Linked DNA regions of Homo sapiens: all the other regions are linked to region 4. The links are contacts of gene promoters, found by promoter capture Hi-C in blood cells and fetal thymus (Javierre and others, 2016). All regions are on one chromosome and are shown on one strand. The core of a region is centred on a gene start or on the middle of the fragment in contact, and the rest is flanking DNA. Distances in the headings are between cores, read along the strand shown. Region 1 has its middle 15 kb from the start of ATP5F1B. Region 2 holds the start of NACA (nascent polypeptide associated complex subunit alpha). Region 3 overlaps HSD17B6 (hydroxysteroid 17-beta dehydrogenase 6). Region 4 holds the start of MYO1A (myosin IA).

The links. The method cuts DNA at HindIII sites, captures the fragments that hold promoters and counts their contacts. A CHiCAGO score of 5 or more calls a contact.
Region 1: a contact is called between a fragment that was not itself captured here and the fragment with the promoter of MYO1A in region 4, in 1 of 17 cell types (M2 macrophages). The highest score is 5.0, in M2 macrophages.
Region 2: a fragment that was not itself captured here is called in contact with the fragment with the promoter of MYO1A in region 4 in 1 of 17 cell types (M2 macrophages); the score reaches 6.1 in M2 macrophages.
Region 3: a fragment that was not itself captured here is called in contact with the fragment with the promoter of MYO1A in region 4 in 2 of 17 cell types (M1 macrophages and M2 macrophages); the score reaches 6.6 in M1 macrophages.

Annotation. Positions count from the first base shown.
Region 1 is chr12:56,659,021-56,662,511 of GRCh38, forward strand. No RefSeq gene overlaps it. Among named protein-coding and RNA genes, the nearest start is that of ATP5F1B, 15 kb to the left of the region's middle. RefSeq lists silencers at 1,451-1,651, 2,763-2,812. The HindIII fragment of the contact is 2,808 bases long and covers 14-2,821 here.
Region 2 is chr12:56,723,029-56,726,527 of GRCh38, forward strand. NACA (nascent polypeptide associated complex subunit alpha) reads right to left here and starts at 2,271. Exons shown (of 9, transcript NM_001365896.1): 1 at 2,235-2,271; 2 at 1,424-1,495. The coding sequence starts at 1,493. RefSeq lists enhancers at 898-1,017, 2,077-2,126, 2,217-2,346. The HindIII fragment of the contact is 3,564 bases long and covers 294-3,499 here.
Region 3 is chr12:56,786,436-56,789,797 of GRCh38, forward strand. HSD17B6 (hydroxysteroid 17-beta dehydrogenase 6) reads left to right here. Exons shown (of 5, transcript NM_003725.4): 5 at 690-1,355. The coding sequence ends at 907. Among named protein-coding and RNA genes, the nearest start is that of HSD17B6, 25 kb to the left of the region's middle. The HindIII fragment of the contact is 404 bases long and covers 1,076-1,479 here.
Region 4 is chr12:57,048,839-57,052,268 of GRCh38, forward strand. It overlaps MYO1A (myosin IA), which reads right to left and starts at 1,291. Exons shown (of 28, transcript NM_005379.4): 1 at 1,049-1,291. The HindIII fragment of the contact is 12,080 bases long and covers 1-3,430 here.

The DNA of each region.
Region 1 (3,491 bases), core at 168-2,667, 390 kb before region 4:
CCCCACATGGACAAGCTTATCTCAGAGATAAGACCTAGGAATCCACATTATCACAAAAAACTCCATGATTTTGATTGTTTGAGAATAGGTTCAAGATGAATCACAGCGCAATAGAAATAGGGAAGTAACTAAAGCTATAAAGGCTAATTAGCTGTGAGGCCAGAGAAGGAACAGTGGTTGAGGGGCAGTTAGACTGCATGACACTTAGTTGTAGTATAAGCAGCTTTGCAGTTCTTTCACTCATGATGATGAGATACATAATGGGAATGGGTTGCTAAGTACTCAACTGAAGGCCATTGGATTTGAGATTAAGAAATTTAGGATTGGGGCTGGGCAGGGTAGCTCACGCCTGTAATCCCAGCACTTTGGGAGGCCAAGGTGGGCAGATCACCTGAGGTCGGGAGTTTGAGACCAGCCCGACCCACACAGAGAAACCCCATCTCTACTAAAAATACAATATTAGCTGGGCTTGGTGGCGCATGCCTATAATCCCAGCTACTTGGGAAGGCTGAGGCAGGAGAATCTCTTGAACCTGGGAGATGGAGGTTGCAGTGAGCTGAGATTACGCCACTGCACTCCAGCCTGGGCAACAAGAGCAAAACTCCGTCTCAAAAAAAAAAAAAAAAAAGAAAAGAAAAGAAATTCAGGATTGGCCTGGCACAATGGCTCAATCCTGTAATCCCAGCACTTTGGGAGGCTGAGGTGGGTGGATCACTTGAGGTCAGGCGTTTGAGACCAGCTTGGCCAACCAGGTGAAACCCCATCTCTACTAAAAATACAAAAATTAGCCAGGAGTGGTGGCACATGGCTGTAATCCCAGCTACTCAGAGAGCTGAGGCAGAAGGATCGCTTGAACCTGGGAAACAGGCTGCAGTGAGCCGAGATCATGCCTCCATGTCAAAAAGTGACTCCGTGTCTAAATAAATAAATAAATAAATAATTTAGGAGTGAGTTCTGGATAAGTTCTTCACATGAACAATGAAATTACCCAGACTGACAATACAACTTGCGAACAAATGATTTGTCACTTTAGACTATCTGGGAAGAGCAAAGCAAGCCTGGCAATATCATTATTTTTTTCTTTTTGAGATGGAGTCTAGTTCTGTCCCGTGGGCTGGAGTGCAGTGGCTTGATCTCAGCTCACTGCAACCTCCACCTCCTGGGTTCAAGCAATTCTCCTGCCTCAGCCTCCTGAGTAGCTGGGATTACAGGCGCATGCCACCATGCCCAGCTAATTTTTGTATTTTTAGTAGAGACAGCATTTCACTGTGTTGGCCAGGCTGGTCTCCAACTCCTAACCTCATGATCTGCCCGCCTCGGCCTCCCAAAGTGCTGGGATTACAAGCGTGAGCCACCGCACCCGGCCAAGCCTGGCAATATCTTAAATGAGTTGTCACCAAGCCTTATTTGACCACCTACATATACCTGGATTCCAGATCCCATTACCATTGCCTAAATTTAGCCCTTCATCTCTTACCACTTGAATTACTGCACAAACTTGTTTCTTTACCTCCAAATCCACCTGCAAAACATTACTCATGCTATGGTATTTCTGAAATGTATTTCACCATACTGTGTTGAGGGAAAGATATTTGGTGGCGATATACGACGCTTTTTACTAGCAGGAATAGACATTCAACATTTAATTGTGGTCAATGTTTAAATGAAACCCACAGATCAGCCTGGCCAACATGGTGAAACCCCATCTCTAGTAAAAATATAAAAATTAGCTGGGCATGGTGGCACACGCCTGTAGTCCCAGCTACTCGGAAGGCTGAGGCAGGAGAATTGCTTGAACCTGGGAATTCAGAGATTGCAGTGAGCCGAAATTGTGCCACTGCACTCCAGCCTCAGCGACAGAGCGAGACTCTGTCTCAAAAAAACAAAAAACAAAAAAACACAATTGTCCCTTGGTATATTCCAGAGGAGTGGTTTCATGACCCCTCCACCACCAAGCATACCAAAATCAGACAGAACCCTCCGTATTCATGGGTTTGGCATTTTACAAATACTGTATTTTTGACCTGCATTTGGTTGGAAAAAATCCACCTAAAAGGGGTTCAAACCCATGTTGTTCAAGGTTCAAGTGCTCAAGGATGACAGAATGTAGGGGTTAGAACAGGCCTTTACAAAAATCCTTAGAATTCACTGTTAAAATTCTCCATCCTACTGCCACCCTAGAACTCCATTTCAGTTGTCCTCTTATTTGCACAGGCTGCTAGATTCGACCAGGAAGTCCTACTCTGTATTCCCTATTACACCCTTAGTTATCAATTTATTTAATCACTATCAAAGCAACTAGATGTTAAGTTTTTCACAAAGTGCCAGCCTCCTCCCTACCTAGCCTACATCTTTTCCTATTTGGTACAATGCTGGGTGATCCACAAATAAAAAATTGTATTTTCAAAAATTTCTCAAAAGAATTCCTGCTAAACAGGAGAAATTTCAATTAGCTTAGAACTAAAATGGGGGAGAAAACCTTCATGCTACTGTAGCAATCACCCTCAATCTGCCCTCCTTGGAAATAGCTAAGTTTAGGGAACCGTATAGCACCAATATCACAACCTATCAATATGGACAAAAAATATGCTATACCCATTCATCTAAACTTAAAAAATTTCACTCACAATCTTAAATTGATCATTTTTTTTTTTTGAGAGGGGGTTTTGCCATGTTGGCCAGGCATGAGTCACCACGCCCAGCCCAGAACATTTTTTGAGACAGTCTCGCTCTGCCGCCCAGGCTGGAGTGCAGTGGCGCCTCAATGGTGTGATTACAGAATTGAGCCACCTTGCCCGCCCCAGAAAATGTTCTTAACAGAAGCTTTGAATTAGAGATGAGGTACAACGCACAAGGTCTGATACCTAAGCAATAAGGACTGATGAAAACCTGTTCAAATGTTTGAACACAAAATATTTAAAATTATAGCCAGGTGACACACAGTGACACACACCTTAATACTGGCACTTGTGGAGGCCAAGGCAGGCATATCACTTGAGCCTAGGAGTTCGAGACCAGCTTGGGAAACATGGAGACCCATCTCTACAAAATATATGAATAAAGTCCACCAGGTGTGGTGCTTGAGATATGATTGCACCACTGCACTCCAGCCTGGGCAAGACCGTCTTTTTGTTTTGAGATGGAGTTTCACTTGCAGCCCAGGATGGAGTGCAATGGTACAATCTGGGCTGACTGCAACCTCTGCCTCCTGGGTTCAAGCGATTCTCCTGCCTCAGCCTCCTGAGTAGCTGGGGTTACAGGCATGTACCACCACGCCTGGCTGATTTTTTTGGATTATTAGTAGAGACAGGGTTTCACCATGTTGGCCAGGCTAGTTTTGAACTCCTGATCTCAGGCGATCCTCCCGCCTCAGCCTCCCAAAGTGCTAGGATTACAGGCGTGAGCCACCGTGCCCGGCTTTTGAGACACTTGTCTACAGAAAAGTTCGTGGTGCAATCTTGGCTCACTGCATCCCCAATGGCCCAGGCTCA
Region 2 (3,499 bases), core at 826-3,325, 330 kb before region 4:
GTCTAACGATTACAGGAAAACGCTACCAAACATAATGAATCAGAATTAAAAACATGGAATATGTTTTCTTCTGACTGGACCTCAAATGGAATAAGCACTCAAATACTTGCTTTGACACCATCAACAATTCCTTGAGCTTCCTTCTTCATTCTAATAGACTATCATTACAGATAAAACCTTGTGTATTTATCATTGGTACTTCCTTAATATAAGCCTACTATGCAACTCAGACTATTCAGGAATACGTTTAATAGCATTAAGGACTGTTTCAGAAGTAAATGCATTAGTTTTGAAGCTTGAATCAGATTATTCTAAATTCATCTGAATTTCAAATCTTCGTATTTGTAAAATTAAGTTGTTCAATGACACAATCTCTAAAATCTCGTTTTGTACTGAAATTACAGAATCTTTAGAGAACAGTACTTTATTTTTTCCCTTCCTTAAGCCCCTTGTACTTCAAGAATTTCATATTGTTTATACTCCAGCTTAGAGCCCCCTATTGTCCTTCCTAGCAGCTGTATTAATCCCTTCAGCTGTTAAAATCAAACAGGTGGGAAGAAACTTTATGCTTTCAACTATAAGCAACTCTACTGTAACTCCAAAAAGGGACAGGAATTGCCCTTAAATAACAAATGAAATTTAAAAAAAACCAAAAAGGTGAGAATGAAAATTACAGCCTGAAGATTTCCTTCATTTAACGCTGCACAACTGACTCAGAAAGGCTATCATTTTAAGAACTTTTCATTACCTCCTCCTAAGTTTTCTACAGAGATATGTTTTAACCAGAATTTAAAATTAGCCTTCACAGTCGTTAATTTCGACGCTGAGGATAAAAGGATTTATTTCAATCCTGGGTTTCACACAATGATGCAGGAACTATTCCAGCACACTAGAAGTATCTCAGCACCACCAACCCATAAACAAGTTATCCGACCTAGGACGACTCTGGGGCCCAGTAGGACACATTTACCACCAGCACACATCTCATCCAGACATGTGATAAAGGCACAATGCCAAGCTCTGCTAACTAAAACCTTGATGCAACTTGCTGGCTGGAGTTTCACAAATGCTCCGGGCTCCTTGGCCTGTGTCATCTAGTTCCAATAGGTAAGAATCACTGAGCCCATTCCCTGCTGAGTTTTCCTATGTGAGGTGGGGGTTCCACAGGAGAGCTTCTTTTGAGGCGACAGGCATAACATAGAAAGCAAGCTAGGGTACTTTTAACGTCCACGAATCTTAAAAATATTATTTTTACTCCAAATCCCTAAAGAAGTATCTCCAGGATAGTAATTTTACGGTCTATCCTCCTTGGTAAAGCTGCAACCCCATCCTCCTAAAAAGTGTATTTCCCCTTGGTCATTTTGCCCACCAAATGGCTTTAGGGTTAATTTTAATTAATGGCAAGGAGGGTAGGGAAACCTACCTGTCTCAGCCTGGGGCTGCGGCAACTCCTGCTCTGTAGCAGGGACGGTTTCTGTGGCTTCGCCGGGCATTTCTGAAGGAAGGGAATAAAAAGGAGGCCTAAATTGATTGGGATACATTCACTTGCCCAACCCGGAGATAAGTATTCTTAAAAACTCCGAGGAGGGCTGTTAGAAAAAAATCGTGAGGGTGTTTGGTGACAACCTTCCCCAAAGCACCTGGGAATAAGAGGTAAATATGATGTGACCCTCACGCCTCTATCAAGGCCAGCAATTCCCACTGCATTCTCAACCCGAGGGAGAGGATCCCGGGCTGGCTCTCGATCATGGGAGACTTCAGACGCTACTGTGAACCCCCTCCACTCCTAATACTCACACTGGCTGGGCTGGGGCCTCCTGGACTACGTTTGCCGACTTTGGGGTACCAGGAGGGGAAAGACGGTGTTTTAAGTCCAACACTTGCTTGTCACAGGGAGAACGGTGTTACAGGTTCTAAGGCTGTGACCCCTTACCCTTTTCTGGATCCTGTGAAGCAGTTCCCAAAACAAGACGCACTCCTCTTCCGCCCTCAACACTGCAACTGCTCCCATCTCTGCAGGCTCGGATTCTGGGCCCGCCCCGCAGCCCTTCTACCCTGCTTTTGCCAGGACACCAACCGCAGACCCCATTTTGTCCGGAGGCCCAGGGGCGAGTAGGAACCCTGTGGCCCAGTAAAGCCTCCAACTCTCCTTAACTCTCAGTCCCCGGGGCGGCTTAGCCCGAAAGAAAGGCGGATGGCTGCGGATAGACAGTAGCGGCACAGAAAGTACTTACTGTGCAGGGAACGCGGAACCAAGATGGCGGCAGAAAGACCGAGCGAGAGCGTGACCCACGCCTGTTGCAGAAGGAAGCCTGGAGCGGAGGGGGTGGGACTAGGATCCGATTCCGGGTCAAGAGCTGCCGGCAGCCACTTCCTTTGACGAGTGACTGTCAGGCCGTTCCCACGGCGGGGGTGGTGACAAGGACTAAAGGGTAAGAATTTAGAACGGGACGCGCAGGCCTAGCAGGAGCTCTCTGCGCGGACCCACGCAGTCCTCAGAACTAAGCAGACTCCGCCCTCCGGTCCGCGAAGTGGCGACTGCGGTATTAAGTCGACCTCGCGATTTCTCAAATAGTGCAGGAAGAAGACATTAAATAGCGAATGCTAGAGACTGCATTCACAACATTGGAGGGTGGAAGTGACTTAGGCTAACCAGTTATTTTTGGAACACACGATGTGAAAACATTTAAAAGCTGCTGGACCCTCTCCCCCCCCATCAACAACAACAAAAAAACCCATTTTAAAACTTGAGAGATGTGATGGGTCACATATAACTTCAGTTCAGATTATAAATTTAATTCGATTTTTCTTGTTCTGTTCAATGACTAGAGAGACTCAAACGATGTCACCAGATGACAGCAACTCATGCGTGTTAAACTCTTCGTAAAACAATGTTAGCTGTACCCCCGCCCCCCCCCCAAAAAAAACACTTCTTGTAACCAAATTCTGTAATTATGTTCCAACCTTGTATGGATAACGTAATCCAGCTAAAAACTCCTCTGTCTCCCTAAATAAATGAAATCGTAACTTCTCTACTTCTGAAGGCTGACTCCATTCTTTGGAGGTTTTCTGGTTGGTCCATCCTCACACTGCCCTTGAATAAACTCTTTAAATAGATTCCGGCCCTTTTGATTGTTTTAGGTTCACGACAATTTAGCCGATGTTGAAATTATAAAGCTGCAGATTCTCCTTCCCAGAAAAAAAGAACATAGGCACATATACAATTCCTTTGCTTGCTATTTTGGGCACTTCTTGGATTTTTTTTTTTTTTTTTTTGAGTCGCTCTGTCGGCCAGGCTAGAGTGCAGTGGCACGATCTCGGCTCACTGCAATCTCCGCCTCCAGGGCTCAAGCAGTTGTCCCGCCTCAGCCTCCCGAGTAGCTGGGATTACAGGTGTGTGCCACCACCCCCGGCTAATTTTTTATTTTTAGTAGAGACGGGTTTCACCATGTTGGCCAGGCTGGTCTTGAACTCCTGACCTCAGGTAATCCGCCTGCCT
Region 3 (3,362 bases), core at 28-2,527, 260 kb before region 4:
CATGGGGTTTCACCATGTTGGCCATGCCGGTCTCGAACTCCTGACCCCAAATTATCCACCCACCTCGGCCTCCCAAAGTGCTGGGATTACAGGCATGAGCCACTGCACCCAGCCATCAGAATTGAGTTTTGAGGCCAGGCGTGGTGCCTCACACCTATAATTCCAGCACTTTGGGAGGCTGATGTGGGAGGATCGCTTGAGCCCAGGAATTCAAGACCAGCCTGGGCAACATAGTGAGACCTTGTGTCTACAAAAAATAAACAAAATTAGCTGGGCATGGGGATGCGAACCTGTAGTCCCAGCTATGTGGGAAGCTGAGGAGGGAGGATCACGAGCCTGGGAGGCAGAGGTTGCAGTGAGCTGAGATTGTACCACTACACTCCAACCTGGGTGACAGAGCAAGACCCTGTCTCAAAAGAAACCCCAAAAAACAACCAAACAAAAAAAGAAAAATGATTGAGTTTTAAAATTAAAATTAAATAAAATCCAAAATTTAGTTTTTATTCCAGTGCATTAGCTATTGTTTAAGTGCTCAATAGCTACATGTGGCTAGTGGCTATCATATTGGGATGCACATTCTAGATCATTCTATTTTGTAGAAATTAGATGTGGTGAGACTTCTGTGACTGCATGATCTTAAAAATATAAGGAATAAGATTGTTGACCACCATTTCTTTTTTTGTATACAGTTTACAATATCATGAAGGAAGGGCTGTTGAATTGTAGCACAAACCTGAACCTGGTCACTGACTGCATGGAACATGCTCTGACATCGGTGCATCCGCGAACTCGATATTCAGCTGGCTGGGATGCTAAATTTTTCTTCATCCCTCTATCTTATTTACCTACATCACTGGCAGACTACATTTTGACTAGATCTTGGCCCAAACCAGCCCAGGCAGTCTAAAGAAAACTGGGTTGGTGCTTCTTGGAATGAAGGCAAAAATCTGAAATTGTTAGTGTCTCAGTAATCCTGATTTAGAACCCAGGCTTTTTGTAACAATGTGTTTTCTTGCCTAAATTCATTTATCTGGCATCATCAGAGTACTAACATGTTTATATTTCAGATATCCAAAGCTTACCACTTTAGGTGATGAATCTTTACTATTTTAGCCCTTTTTTGATGAGACTATTTGTCTAAAGTGAATCATTTGTTCTTGCCTTATTAAACAGAGTAGATGGAAAACAATTTAACCTATTTTGAAGTCATTTCTTTATGAATATGAATAATTGTTCTATGCTTTAATAATCTATTGTGAGGAAACTACTAAGAAATATGTTGGTGTGTTTGTCCTTACTTGAAATGGGTCTGTATTATGGTACTTTTAATAAATATTTGATTTTTCTTTCTCTTCTCTTTTTGTCAGCAGTCTTTTTTCCCCAATATATTTCTTCCTTTTTTAAAAAGAAATTACTTTTTAAATTTTAAATCAAAATAATGTTATACATATATAGCTAAAAATTCAATTAATATTCAAAAGCTTAAAATGAAAAATGGCAATCCTTGCCCTTATCCTCATCCTTCATTGCTGCTCGTCAGAGGCAAATGGTCTCAACTTTTAGCTATTTCTTCTGGTATTTATCTCTGAACTTCTAAATGATATACTGTTATTTTTTATTAATTTTAGCTATTCTCAATTGACTTTCTGTTATGGTGCAAATTTGGCTTTTTTTTACATCACTTTCCTGCCCATTTCCTTTATCCTTATAGTTTGAATATAATTTTATCACATTTCTGGTTAAATGAATAGTGTTTATATAATTAAGTATGTGAATATTATTAACTATTTAATCAAGTATTTTTCTTTTATAGTAACATTTTTTGTTTTTCTTGGAGTTAATTATTGCCTTGCTTTTTTGCTTGCAAAGGTTTTTATTTACCTTAACCTTTTTTTGGTTGTTCTCTCAGATCTGTCACTACCAGTAGTGTTCTCTAAATAATTAAATAGATTATAGACTTATTCAGTCTATTTCAACCCCCCAACCCTCCTGTCCCTGGAGATTTCCCTCTCACTGCTTTCTTTTTTTTTTTTTTTTCTAATTGATCATTCTTGGGTGTTTCTCGCAGATGGGGATTTGGCAGGGTCATAGGACAATAGTGGAGGGAAGGTCAGCAGATAAACAAGTGAACAAAGGTCTCTGGTTTTCCTAGGCAGAGGACCCTGCGGCCTTCTGCAGTGTTTGTGTCCCTGGGTACTTGAGATTAGGGAGTGGTGATGACTCTTAACGAGCATGCTGCCTTCAAGCATCTGTTTAACAAAGCACATCTTGCACCGCCCTTAATCCATTTAACCCTGAGTGGACACAGCACATGTTTCAGAGAGCACAGGGTTGGGGGTAAGGTCATAGATCAACAGGATCCCAAGGCAGAAGAATTTTTCTTAGTACAGAACAAAATGAAAAGTCTCCCATGTCTACTTCTTTCTACACAGACACGGCAACCATCCGATTTCTCAATCTTTTCCCCACCTTTCCCCCTTTTCTATTCCACAAAACCGCCATCGTCATCATGGCCCGTTCTCAATGAGCTGTTGGGTACACCTCCCAGACGGGGTGGTGGCCGGGCAGAGGGGCTCCTCACTTCCCAGTAGGGGCGGCCGGGCAGAGGCGCCCCTCACCTCCCGGACGGGGCGGCCGGGCGGGGGGCTGACCCCCCCACCTCCCTCCTGGACGGGGCGGCTGGCCAGGCGGGGGCCTGAGCCCCCCACCTCCCTCCCGGACGGGGCGGCTGGCCGGGCAGGGGGCTGAGCCCCCCACCTCCCTCCCGGACGGGGCGGCTGGCCGGGCAGAGGGGCTCCTCACTTCCCAGTAGGGGCGGCTGGGCAGAGGTGCCCCTCACCTCCCGGATGGGGCAGCTGGCCGGGCGGGGAGCTGAGCCCCCCACCTCCCTCCCGGATGGGGCGGCCAGCCGGGCGGGGGGCTGAACCCCCCCCACCTCCCTCCCGGACAGGACGGCTGGCCGGGCGGGGGGCTGACCCCCCCACCTCCCTCCCGGACGGGGCGGCTGGACGGGCGGGGGGCTGAGCCCTCCTCCTCCCTCCCGGACGGGGCGGCTGGCCGGGCGGGGGGGGGCTGACCCCCCCCACCTCCCTCCCGGACGGGACGGCTGGCCGGGCGGGGGGCTGACCCCCCTCACCTCCCTCCCGGAGGGGACGGCTGGCCGGGCAGAGGGGCTCCTCACTTCCCAGTAGGGGCGGCCGGGCAGAGGCACCCCTCACCTCCCGGACGGGGCGGCTGGCCGGGCGGAGGCGCCCCCCCCACCTCCCTCCCGGACGGGGCGGCAGGCCGGGCGGGGGCTGACCCCCCACCTCCCTCCTGGATGGGGTGGCTGCCGGGCGGAGATGCTCCTCACTTCCCAGACG
Region 4 (3,430 bases), core at 41-2,540:
ACCTACCCATAACCATTTCAGAAGTTCTTCCAAAGGTCTCTCCTTCCCTGTCATTGCTACAGTGAGCTTCATTTTTAAAATGGGAACTTGACAAGGCAGAATTATAGAGGATAGAGGCAGGATTCCTCCATAAGAGATTGGAATTTCCCAAAGAAAATGAAAGTGGGGTTTGCTTCCCCAACAAACAGGCAGTTGTCAGGACCTCTGGATGTGCTACATGTCTGTCTCTATTTTTCCATCTCTAGCTTTTACACCCACTCCTGTAAACTTCTGGCATGGACTTTGCCCCAGAGGGACACACCTAGCTTCTTGCGGGAGTGGGCAAGGAGGAGCACAGTTGGAACTACAGGGAGGGTGGTGGGGCTTGGCCCCCATGCAGTAGGCACATGGCAGGTGTTCCCTAAGGAGGAAACCTGGCCCTCCTCAGTCTTTCCTGTGAGACTGAGTAGGCAGAGTGGCCAGGCACAGGACAGGATTATTAGTACAATGGTCAAGGCCACTCCTGAACAGGAATGAAAGAGACACATCCTCCTATGCTATTGCATCTCTGAACCCGGGTGGAGGAGCGGAGGAAGGAGGAACGGAAGTGGGGCAAGAAGGGGCACAGGCTTCCTTCTCCCTTCACTTGGCTTTCCCCAAGCTCTAGGAAAAGAGAGCACTTGTCACTTACCAGAAGGACACAACTGAGGAAGCAATAAGAATATCAATAATAGCAGTCTCTAGGAATCATGCAGCGTTTACCACGAACTGGGCAGGGCTCTAAGCACTGTACATACACTAATTCATTTAGTGCTTACAATATCCCCATGAAGTAGATACTATTTTTGTATTTTCTAGATTTTACAAAAAGCTAAGTCTTTTAACTAACTTGGCAGGGAAGGGTGAGAAGCAGAAGGTGGGTTGGGAGCAGTCATCTTCTTTGGATTTGGATTTGAAGGGAGTGGGAATGTGACTGGTTGAGGGTGGGGAAGGGAAAAAGGCAAGAGGCCCCAGATGGGGCGCCCCAAGGTGTTAAAGAGAAGCAGTGACAGGTCAAGGCAGGACTCACCCAACACTGGAACTAGGGTATAACTTCACTGTCCTTGGAGAATGGTGGATGAAATCTCAATTTGACAGGAATGGGGCATAAGAGTCCTGGCCCCAGGATGGAGAGGTGGCTTAATGGGAGCTGTCCATGGTGCAAGGAAGCTGGGAAAAAGGCTGCCCTCCTCTTGCCAGTGTCCACTCTTCTGATTTTCCCTTTTGCTGCCTCTTCCAGCCCAGGCTCCCTGTGCCAGTCAAACCAGGAGAGGCCGGAGATGGCTGATCAGCACAAAGTCCAGACTGTTCCTGCTGAGGGTGTGGCTCACTTAACCCTTCACAGGCCTGAAGCCCCAGAGGGAGACACTCAAGCTCCCTCTAGGTAGGAAAGGGTATCTGGCTGGCGTTAGCTGAGAGGCTTAACTAAAGGAGGGTTCTTGCTCCATTGTCTCCCAAATTTGGAAATGAAAGCTGGAAGAATGGAATTTATAGCCAAGGAAAATATTTCCCAAAGAGAAGTCAGGAATTTTGTCAAGGACAGGTAGGGCCAAGTGCGGTTGCTCATGCCTATACTCCCAGCACTTTGGGAGGCCAAGGCGGGAGGATCACTTGAGCCCAGGAGTTCGAGACCAGCCTAGGCAACATGGCGAGACACGTCTTTACAAAGAGTGTCTTCCTAGCAAAAAAACAGTACCTCCCTCATACCTACTCTTCCTATCTTATCGGGAGTCAGGGGATGTTAATGAGATTACTTGGAGAGCTAAGCAGACAAAATCCCCAAATTCTTCTCCACTTCCCTTCCCCCATGAATCAGACCCTATCATAGAGACCCAAAGATTAAAGTGATTAGTAATAATACCTCACATGTGTATAGATGTCCCAGTTTCATTGAACTCCCCCTTGCATTGCCTCACTGAATAGCACCACCCCGAGGAAGGCAATACAGATACTCCATTAAAATGGAAAACTAGGAACAAACACCAGACTCAGAGAGGTTACACAATGTGCCCACAGTTCCATGCTAGTGCATGGCAGAACCAGGAACAGAATGCAGCTCCCTAAGTTTGCCAAAAGTTGCAGCCCAAGTTCTGAAGTTTCTAATTTTAATTCGTCAGCACTAGGATACTGAGTAAGACCCTGAGCTAATGTAATAGCTCCCTCTGATAGATAAGAAGTACCCCTTCATCCAGCCAGGAAAATTCCTAAAAACAGCAAGCCCCCTCTGCCTACCATCCTCTCTCCCAGGCATGCAGAAAGAACAAATTAGGTAATTATAGACACTTAACTGAAGAGAGACTTGATTCTCCAACTCTCAGCTATGGCTGCTTGGTGCAAGGTCCAAACTCTATGGCTCTCACAGAAGCACTCTGCGTAAGCCTGGCACATCAGCAGTTCTATTATCAACCTGCCTTTACATAATTTATTGATCTACTACATATATTTGAAGGTGGAGGGGGGCAAGGAAAAGAGAGAAAGCTGAGTGGAAGTGACATCAAAACATAATGCTATGTGTAGGTGGAGCAGTATCCATGTCCTAGAGGCAGAAGTGACAAATATCACCTATTTACCAGTGGAGGAAACAGATCTAGAGTGAGAAAACCACTTTTCCAGGGTCACACCACTGCAAACCTGGCAGAGCTGGCACCAAAACCCAAGTCTCATGTTCTCTAGGCCAGGAATCTGCAGCCATCTGGGGTTTACCTGCATGTCCACCCATTCAGTCAACTGAGTGCCTACTATGTGCTTACTCACGAGAAAAGTGACTCTAAAATGAGATGGCACTCTCAGGTGTAAGAACAATGACATGAACATCACAGCTAGGGCAACCAACTGTACTGATCCGCCTGTGGGACACAGTGGGGTTCTCTGGACATGGGAATTTGAGTGTTAAAACTAGGAAAGTCCCAGGCAAACTGGAGCCAGTGGGTCAGCCTAAATTAACAAGATATGAAATACACATCCAAGTCAGCTGGGATTTTCTAATCTCCTGCTTTCTAGGCAAAACTGAAGCAACCAGAGCGTATTAGTCTTCCTCTACTTTGACTCCTAAATCACCTTCCTTTTTCCCCCATTAACATTTCTAGACCATGGAAGGGGCAAGAGGGAACTTTTTGGGGTTACAGAAATGGTCTATATCCTGATTGTGGTAGTGGTTATACAACTGTCTCCATTTGTCAAAACTCAGCAAATTTGTACACTTAAAACTGGCAAATTATATTGTTATGTAAATCGTACTTCAATAAAACTGGCAAAAAAAAAAAAAAAATTCTAGGCTGGGTGCAGTGGCTCACGCCTGTAATCCTAACACTTTGAGAGGCTGAGCCGGGCCGATCACTTCAGGCCAAGAGCTCGAAACCAGCCTGGCCAACATGGTGAAACCCCGTCTCTACTAAAAATACAAAAAAGATTA